Regions from separate parts of the Homo sapiens genome. Here region 2 is linked to region 1. The links are contacts of gene promoters, found by promoter capture Hi-C in blood cells and fetal thymus (Javierre and others, 2016). All regions are on one chromosome and are shown on one strand. Each heading gives the region's core, a stretch centred on a gene start or on the middle of the fragment in contact. The rest is flanking DNA. Distances are from core to core; before and after follow the strand shown. Region 1 holds the start of PLCH2 (phospholipase C eta 2). Region 2 overlaps PRDM16 (PR/SET domain 16).

The links. The method cuts DNA at HindIII sites, captures the fragments that hold promoters and counts their contacts. A CHiCAGO score of 5 or more calls a contact.
Region 2: a fragment that was not itself captured here is called in contact with the fragment with the promoter of PLCH2 in region 1 in 1 of 17 cell types (endothelial precursors); the score reaches 5.6 in endothelial precursors.

The regions. Positions count from the first base shown.
Region 1 is chr1:2,474,725-2,478,457 of GRCh38, forward strand. PLCH2 (phospholipase C eta 2) reads left to right here and starts at 1,565. Exons shown (of 22, transcript NM_014638.4): 1 at 1,565-1,988. The coding sequence starts at 1,865. The HindIII fragment of the contact is 30,181 bases long and covers 1-3,733 here.
Region 2 is chr1:3,420,499-3,424,231 of GRCh38, forward strand. All of the region lies in intron 12 of PRDM16 (PR/SET domain 16), which reads left to right. Among named protein-coding and RNA genes, the nearest start is that of ARHGEF16, 32 kb to the right of the region's middle. RefSeq lists an enhancer at 166-666. The HindIII fragment of the contact is 1,664 bases long and covers 1,214-2,877 here.

The sequences.
Region 1 (3,733 bases), core at 315-2,814:
TGTGTCCCAGGCCAGGAGGCCTCTGAGGTGCAGGAAGGAGAACTGGACCCCCTGGGTCAGAGTGGAAGCCCGCAGCAGCCCAGTATGAGGTGGGCAGGGGCCCTGGGCCAGGGCTATGGCCGTCTGGTCTGTCTCCAGGCCCTCAGGCCACCTCCTGGCCCCTGCGCTGCCCCTTACACGGTGGCCTTCCCCGAGGCCCTGTCTTCCTGAGGACGCCCGGGACTCCAGCCCCTCTCCTCTCCCTGCAGCTCATGGCTCCCTAATCTAATTCCACGGCAGAGCCCAGAAACGCCTGCTGACCTGCTTCCGCCGAGAGCAGCAGAGCCTGTGACGGGGCCCCTGGTGGGGGCCTGGGTTGGCTCTGTGCTGACTGCATCTGATCTGGCTGGGTGTGGCCCTGGTTGTCAGTGGTCAGCTGGAGACGCATGGCCATCTCCTCAGGGACTGCCACCTCCCACGCCTGACCTTGGCCCCGGGGCTCTGCCAGGATGCCCAGCCCTGGCACCTCCCTGTCCTGGGCTCTGCAGGCCAAACTCCTCCCCTGGTATGGGGGGAGGCGAGCAGCTGCCCGGAACCTTCCAGTCCTTGTTGCTGGAGCCAGTAGAGCCTGGGCAGTGGGTGGGAAGAAGGGCGGGGTTCTCCCCAGTGTGGTCACGAAGCATGGGCATGGCCAGGACACAGGTGGCTGGTGTTCAGCCGGGGTCTGCCCACCTCCCATTCCCACAGCTGCCCCTGGTGTCCCGGCCTGGACTTGGGGATGGGAGAGCCTGTGCTGTCCTGTAGTGCGGGGCCAGTACACAGGGTGGGCTGTGTGGTCCTGGTGGCAGTGGGACCTGGAGTCCTTTCCTCAGTGGGAGCTGAGACGGTGGGGTGGGTCCTCCTTGGGCGAGGCCCCTGTCCAGGTCAGATGGCTGTCATCCCTGCAGGGCAGAATGTGGGGACAAACGTGCCCTGGGCATGGGGCCACCTCCTCCGCCACAGCTCGGTGACCGTGGAGAAAGGTCAGGCTGGGGCTGCAGCTGCATGAGGGAGACATGGAGAGCCCAACCCAGGCTCAGGGACCCACATCCTGGGCCTGGGCTGGGAGTTGTCGCTGTAAGGGATCCGGCTCGGCTCCCCTCTCCAGCCACAGGGGCTGGGCGCTGCGGGGATGAGGTGAGCTTCTGCCCCTGCTCTGGGCCACCTGCCTCTGGACTTTGGGGATCCACTCAGAGGTCCTCATAAGTAGGGATGCGGGGTGAGGGCAGGGACCACTCCAGGCCCAGCCTCGGCATCTGTGGTGGGCGCACAGCGGGGAGGCCCACCCCACACAGGGTCCTCGGAGGACAGTACCCTGCAGGCCTTCCGGTTGCGTTCTCTGGGTCCCAGGAGGGCCCTCCCGTTGGTCCTGCTCTTGTCCCGCAGCCCTGACCTGGGTCTGGTGGCCTGGGGCCTTGGGAAACTCTGTTGCCTCCCCAGTGCCCTCCCATCCCCAGCTGGGAGTTCCCTCGGCCTAAATCCTCCACCAGCTGGGCTGGAGCTGGGATTAGCACAGGGATTGGGCCTGGGGCTGGGCGGGGCTGAGGTCCTTTGCTCCCCCAGCCTTGGGAGGCGGCTGCGTCAGGGATTCCTTGGTGGCCCTGGAGGGTGGATAGGCTGGCCTGGGGGCCATCAGGACAGCAGGTGACGGTCAGGCCAATGCCAGCCGGGCCTGGGCACAGCCCTGTGGGGGCTTCGGAGGGCCCTGAGGAGGAGGAGGAAGAGGCAGAGGAGAGAAGGCCCCACGGAGGTCCTGTCGCCAGCGCTGCCACTGCCTGACCTCCGCTGCCCGAAGGCCGGTGGGCCTCTGTGGCCTCCGTGAAGCAGGCCCGGCTGTCGTCAGGCCATGTCTGGTCCATGGCCCTCCCCCGACAGCCGGACCAAGGGAACGGTGGCCTGGCTGGCGGAGGTACTCCTCTGGGTTGGAGGGAGTGTGGTGCTGTCTTCAGAGTGGCAGCTCGGCCCCCTGGGTAAGAAGGGGCAGGCGAGTGGCCTGGGCTGAGTGCTGGCCCTGGCCAGGTGACTGGTGGGTGGGGGCTGTTCCTGGAGGTGGGGGAAGCCTGGGCCTCCATCCCATCCTGCACTCGCCTCCCCTGTCCCCCGGGTGCTCTAGGGATCATGTGGGTCCAGCAGCGTCGGCTGGCCCTGCCCCTCAGCCGCTCAGAGGCGTGCTCAGCACACCTCGGTCTCCCAGGCACCTGCAGGGCCTGGGGGCTGAACCCAAGGGGGCGAGGGGGGATCTCAGGTGGCTCCAATGCTCTCATTGAAGGGGTGCCTTGTGCTCTGGGGGTCAGTGGTGCTTGCAGCCCAGGCGGCTGGGCTGGCATCCTGGTGCCGGACATGAGGGCCTTTGCCGTTAGGAGACTCTGCAGAGGAGACTGGCTGGGTATGGCTGGGAGGGTGGAGTGTGTGTCTTGTGGTGGCCTGTGGAGGGCCCCGGTCCGGGCTGGCCTGCCAGCTCTCTGTTCCAGCGGCAGACAGGGTCCTGTCCAGGCTGCCCTGTTGCAGGCCTCTGCCCGCCCCCTGCCCCTGTGTCCTGCCTCACCCCTCTCCTAAATCCCTGCAGCCATACCTGCGTCTTCACCTCCCATGTGCCCCGGAGAGCCCAGCCCCCCATGCCATGGCTTCCATCCCTTCAATTCCCCTCTGCTCGTGATCACGTAGTAGCTTCCCCAAGAAGGCCCGGCCAGTACTGCCCTTGGTCCTCTACAACGCCCCCGCCAGGGTCCCTCAGCGTGCAGACCTGGGGTGGGGATTAACGTCTCTGTGCTTTAGCAGATGGTACCTCTGGGACCCGGGCTTTCTGTGAGCAGGTGTGCAGGAACCGAGGGGGTGAGACCAGTCTGTTCCTGGGCTGGGACAGCTGACTCTGGCCTGGACTCCCTGGACCCTGCAGCCCCCTCTCCTGGGACAAGCTACAGCAGGAGGCTGAATGGAGAGAGGAGGGGAGAGAAGGAGCGAGGCAGGCAGCCTGGGGGAGGGGAGGGGAGGGGTTGTGAAGCTCGGATCCGGCACCACAGCCTCCCAAGTCCATACTGCAGTGCAGGGCGTGCGACGCAGACATTCATGGCACCATTCGTGGCGCTTGTTGCACATGAGGGGTGGGGGCTTTCCTGGAGATGCCCCAGGCAGGGGCACAGGCACTCAGGAATTCGACCGCTCCCAGGAGCCACCTGTGGCCAGGGGCGGGGGCAGGGGCATGGGGTTGCTGCCTGCTAGGCCCACCCCGCCCCTGACAAGGGGCCTCCACTGCACTATGGCCCCAGACAGCCAGCCCAGCCACCTCATCTGTCTTGCCTCGTGCCCGGCCTTCCCATTGTTGAGTTCTGTGCTGGCTCCGTCTGAGTGGTAGCTCTCGGGGCCCCAGGCCCAGCGCCGGTTACCAGGGCTGCTAGGACTGGTCCAGGAGGTGGTGGGAGTGGCAGGTGGCCGAGCAGGGTGGGGAGCAGGGCCCTCAGTTCCCAGGACCATCTGGGGAGGAGTGGCAGGGCCCAGCTGAGCTGTGTGACCCAGGCAAGCCGGCACCTGGGGTGGAGGTGGCCCTGGGCTCTGGCCTTTGCCCTGTCACTGGCAGGGCGGTGTGGGCGGGGCCGGGCGAGGTGAGGAGTGGCCGTGCCTCCGCTGACGGCCGTGTTTCTCCCGTGAGGAGTGGCCGTGCCTCCGCTGACGGCCGTGTCTCTCCTGCGAGGAGTGGCTGTGCCTCCGCTGACAGCCG
Region 2 (3,733 bases), core at 796-3,295, 950 kb after region 1:
TTCTCATGGGTTGCCTGGAGTGATAGGGTAATCAAACCAGATGACATTGGAAGCCTCTTCCGTTTAAGTCCTTGCCTCAGATGACCTGAAATCGTTCAGAATGTGTTTCAAAGCCCTGAGGTAGGGAACGTAGAGCCTTTGGTGCACCAAATATGTTTCTTGGAGGTAACTTGGCCCCTAGCTTCTCCTGGCCTAGAGGTCTTTGAGTGAAGCGGGAAGGTGAGATTGAGTTAATGGCAGTCTTATTTCTTAAAAAAAAAGTTAAGCATATAGGCTTTGCGGGATTTGGGTTGGAGAAGCATGAAAATTGAACTGGGAGTGGGGAGAGGGGCTGCTCCTTGGTCTTCGTCCTGACAGCCGGCCCGGGGGTCTCTCTGGGAGGCTGCCCAGTGGAGCCTGGAGTCACAGCCTGGATGCGAGCAGGGCTGCCCGGGACTCCTGCTGGGACCGAGATTCCTGCCTCAGGGCTGCTGACTCCCTAGTCTGCCGTGTGCTTCCATCATCTCCCCAGGCTCCATCCTGCCTTCTGTGTGAAGCTGGAGCGTGCAAGGGAGGCACAGTTGTGCTTCCATCGGGGGCTGCACGCGGCCCGTGCATGTCCTTTCTTTTTTAGTTGTATTTTTACGGCTGGGTTTCAAAATCTCTTCTTTCTTCCTCTTCCCTCACTTTTACAGTCACCAAAAGCAGATCCCCCTGTAGTGGCTGCAGGAGACCTCACTGGATCCTAGGAAGGATGCCGCTGCCCAGTGCTCAGGGGCTCGGGGGCCCTGGCCACCCCCCCTGACCTGCCCATACTCTGTTGTTCCCCTGCCAATGGCTTCTCTGGGAGTGCAGCAGGCACGGTCACAGCAAGGTCCTCTCAAGGCCCTCCGCATTGCACCAGGGCCAGGCTACCCTGCACGTTCTCCTTCCTTTTGGAGCTCACGGGCGTGTTATTTTACGCAGTGAGACCATCAATTTCACTGGCCGCTTGTCAGCTTATTTACAACGCAGACCCCAGCTGCTCGGAGAACTCTGCTCCCTCGCAGCCCTGGGCTCACGGCTCCCCTAAATTTCAAATGGACTTCTCTGTCTGGGCCATTTATTTAGATTAGAAGCAAGAGAGGGCCACGTTCAGGGCTCTCTGCAACCAAATTGAACGCACAGCCCTGTTCGTGGCTCTCCCCGGCCCCAGAGCTTCACACAAGGGACTTGCTCTCCAGTTTTATGAACAAGCTTCTTTTCCAATCCCATTTCTTACCTCGGATCCACAATTGCTAGGGTTTATGCAAGAGCCATTAGGTGGACTTTCTGCAAAAGTCTCTGCATTTCCAAAGAAACCAGGAACTGAATGAGCCGTGTTTGAGCACACATGCAGACAGACAGGCAGACACACAGGCAGGCGGACAGACAGGAAGATAGGCAGGCAAACAGACAGGAAGACAGACAGGCAGGCAGACAGACAGGCAGGCGGACAGACAGGAAGACAGACAGGCAGGCGGACAGACAGGCAGACAGACAGACAGGCAAACAGGCAGGAAGGCAGACAGACAGGTAGATGGACAGATGGATGGACAGACAGGCAGACAGACAGGCAGGGCAGACAAGCAGGAAGGAAGATAGGCAGGTGGACAGACAGATGGACAGACAGGCAGGCAGACAGGCAGACAGACAGGCAGGGCAGACAGGCAGGAAGGCAGATAGATAGATAGGTAGGCAGACAGACAGATGGACAGACAGGCAGACAGACAGGCAGGGCAGACAGGCAAGAAGGCAGACAGACAGGCAGGTGGACAGACAGATGGACAGACAGGCAGGCAGACAGACAGGCAGACAGACAAGCAGATGGACAGGCAGGAAGGCAGATAGACAGACTGGCAAGCAGGCAGACTGGCAGGCAGACAGACAGTCAGGCAGGCAGACAGATTGGGCTGCCTCAACATGCCAGAGGGGCACATGGCCCCAGCTGGGTGGGAAGCCTCTGGCTGGGCAGAGCCTGAATGCTCAGACTGGCAGGTGCTTTGCATCCGGGCTGGAGACGCAGAGTCCAGTGTGTCCTTTCTCAGCAGTCAGTCAGCCTCAAAAGCATGGCGGTCCCAGGGCCAGGCACCACCATTCCAGTCTAAGGATGTGTCAGGGTGGGGGATGTGAGAAAATGCATTGGAGGGTGTAAAATCCCTCCTTTCTGGGAGATTGTGTGGGACACGTCGGGTAGGGGGGCACCCAAGCATCTCCAACCCTGCTGCCGAAAGGGCTCCATCCTCGGCCTTATTCTTGTGTGAGTTCACAGGCCGAGTCAAACAAAACTGCAGCGCCGCCCAGGGCAGGCTTTGTGGATGGCCAGTCCAAGCCAGGGCGCTGCCTGTCACTGGGCTGTGGGAGGAGACGCTGGGACCCGGGTGCCCGGAGGCAGCTCAGCTGACCCGGGCAGGAGCAGGGGCTCCCAGAGAAGAAGCCCACAGGCCAGGCCCCTGGGATCAGGAGCAGAGAAGGCTGAGGGTCACTTCGGGGAGCTCAGGGACTTCGATCACCAATGCTTCTTTTCCTGTCTACTGTTGAAGAGGCCAGAGTGAGCCTGGCCTCCGGCAAAGGTTGGAAGGTTCAGGAATTGAGTGGATGAAGCCTTAGGGCAGCACCAGGGAAGTTTGCTGGGACGAAGTGGGATGGGGATATGCCTCGGCCAGGCGTGGGAGAGGAGTGCCCTTCTCCCAGGACTGCCTCCCGTTCTCTAGGGGACCCATTTTCAGACTTGCTAGGTTTTACCAGGCAGCCTGGGGAGTTGGGGGAGACTCGCAGGCTCTGAGATTCCAAGGACAGTTTCTCACGGCCGCAGCCCCTGCACGTGGGGAATGCTGAGCTCCTGGGCCCGGCAGCAGCACCCGGAAGGTGTGGGACTGAAGCTTCCTGCCTTGGGGAGGCCCCTGCGGGTGTGTTGATGGCAGGTCAGACTCCCTCGCCAGGCTTTTGTGATAGCAAACACCAGCCCAGGCCCCTCCTGTACAGGGCAGCACCGTGCCGAGAAGGCCGAGCCACACAGCCCCTCCCGGTCTGGGAGGCCAGGACTCCCGAGTGTCACCAGGCACGTCCCCATCCATGTGACAAGGGCATGTGACCAGTATGCTGCTCTGGAGCGGGCCACCGGCACCGGTCGGGGCGGGGTGGGGCCTCTCGGAGTCCTGTCCTCTGTGGGAACGAAGGCCACTGTGCTTAGAACAGCCACACCCACTCCGGGTGAACAAACCCTGCCCCATCCTGGTGCCTCCACAGAGGCTCCCACAGAGGCCCTGGCCTGGTCTCCAGCTGCTACCAGGCCCCCCCGGCCAGGATCCTGCTGCAGTGGGTAGACTTTCTGTGTGCTGTGCCATGGGCATCATGGAGCTTGCTTTGTTTTCAAAATATGAAAACGCATGATCATATAAACAGAATGTTCAAGTGCGTGTGTGCCTGTGGGATCAGATGAGCACCGCTGCGGGCGTTCTGATGACCAAGAGCACACACAAGTGTGCACACACAGGCATGGCACACACGCACATGCCAAGCACCCACGTGCAACTGAAAACCATGCAGTCAGGGTTCCCTTCACCGTCGCCCAGCCCAGCCGGGTGCCTCTCAGTAAGCCAGTCCCAGCCCCCCGCCGGATGCCCCCCAGGGAGGAGGCTGTCTTCACAGAGGCAGCGCACGTGCATCTACAGAGCTCATGGGGTTCCTCCTTAGCTCATCCCCAGCTCCCCCTCTTCGTTTCAGGCATGATTTT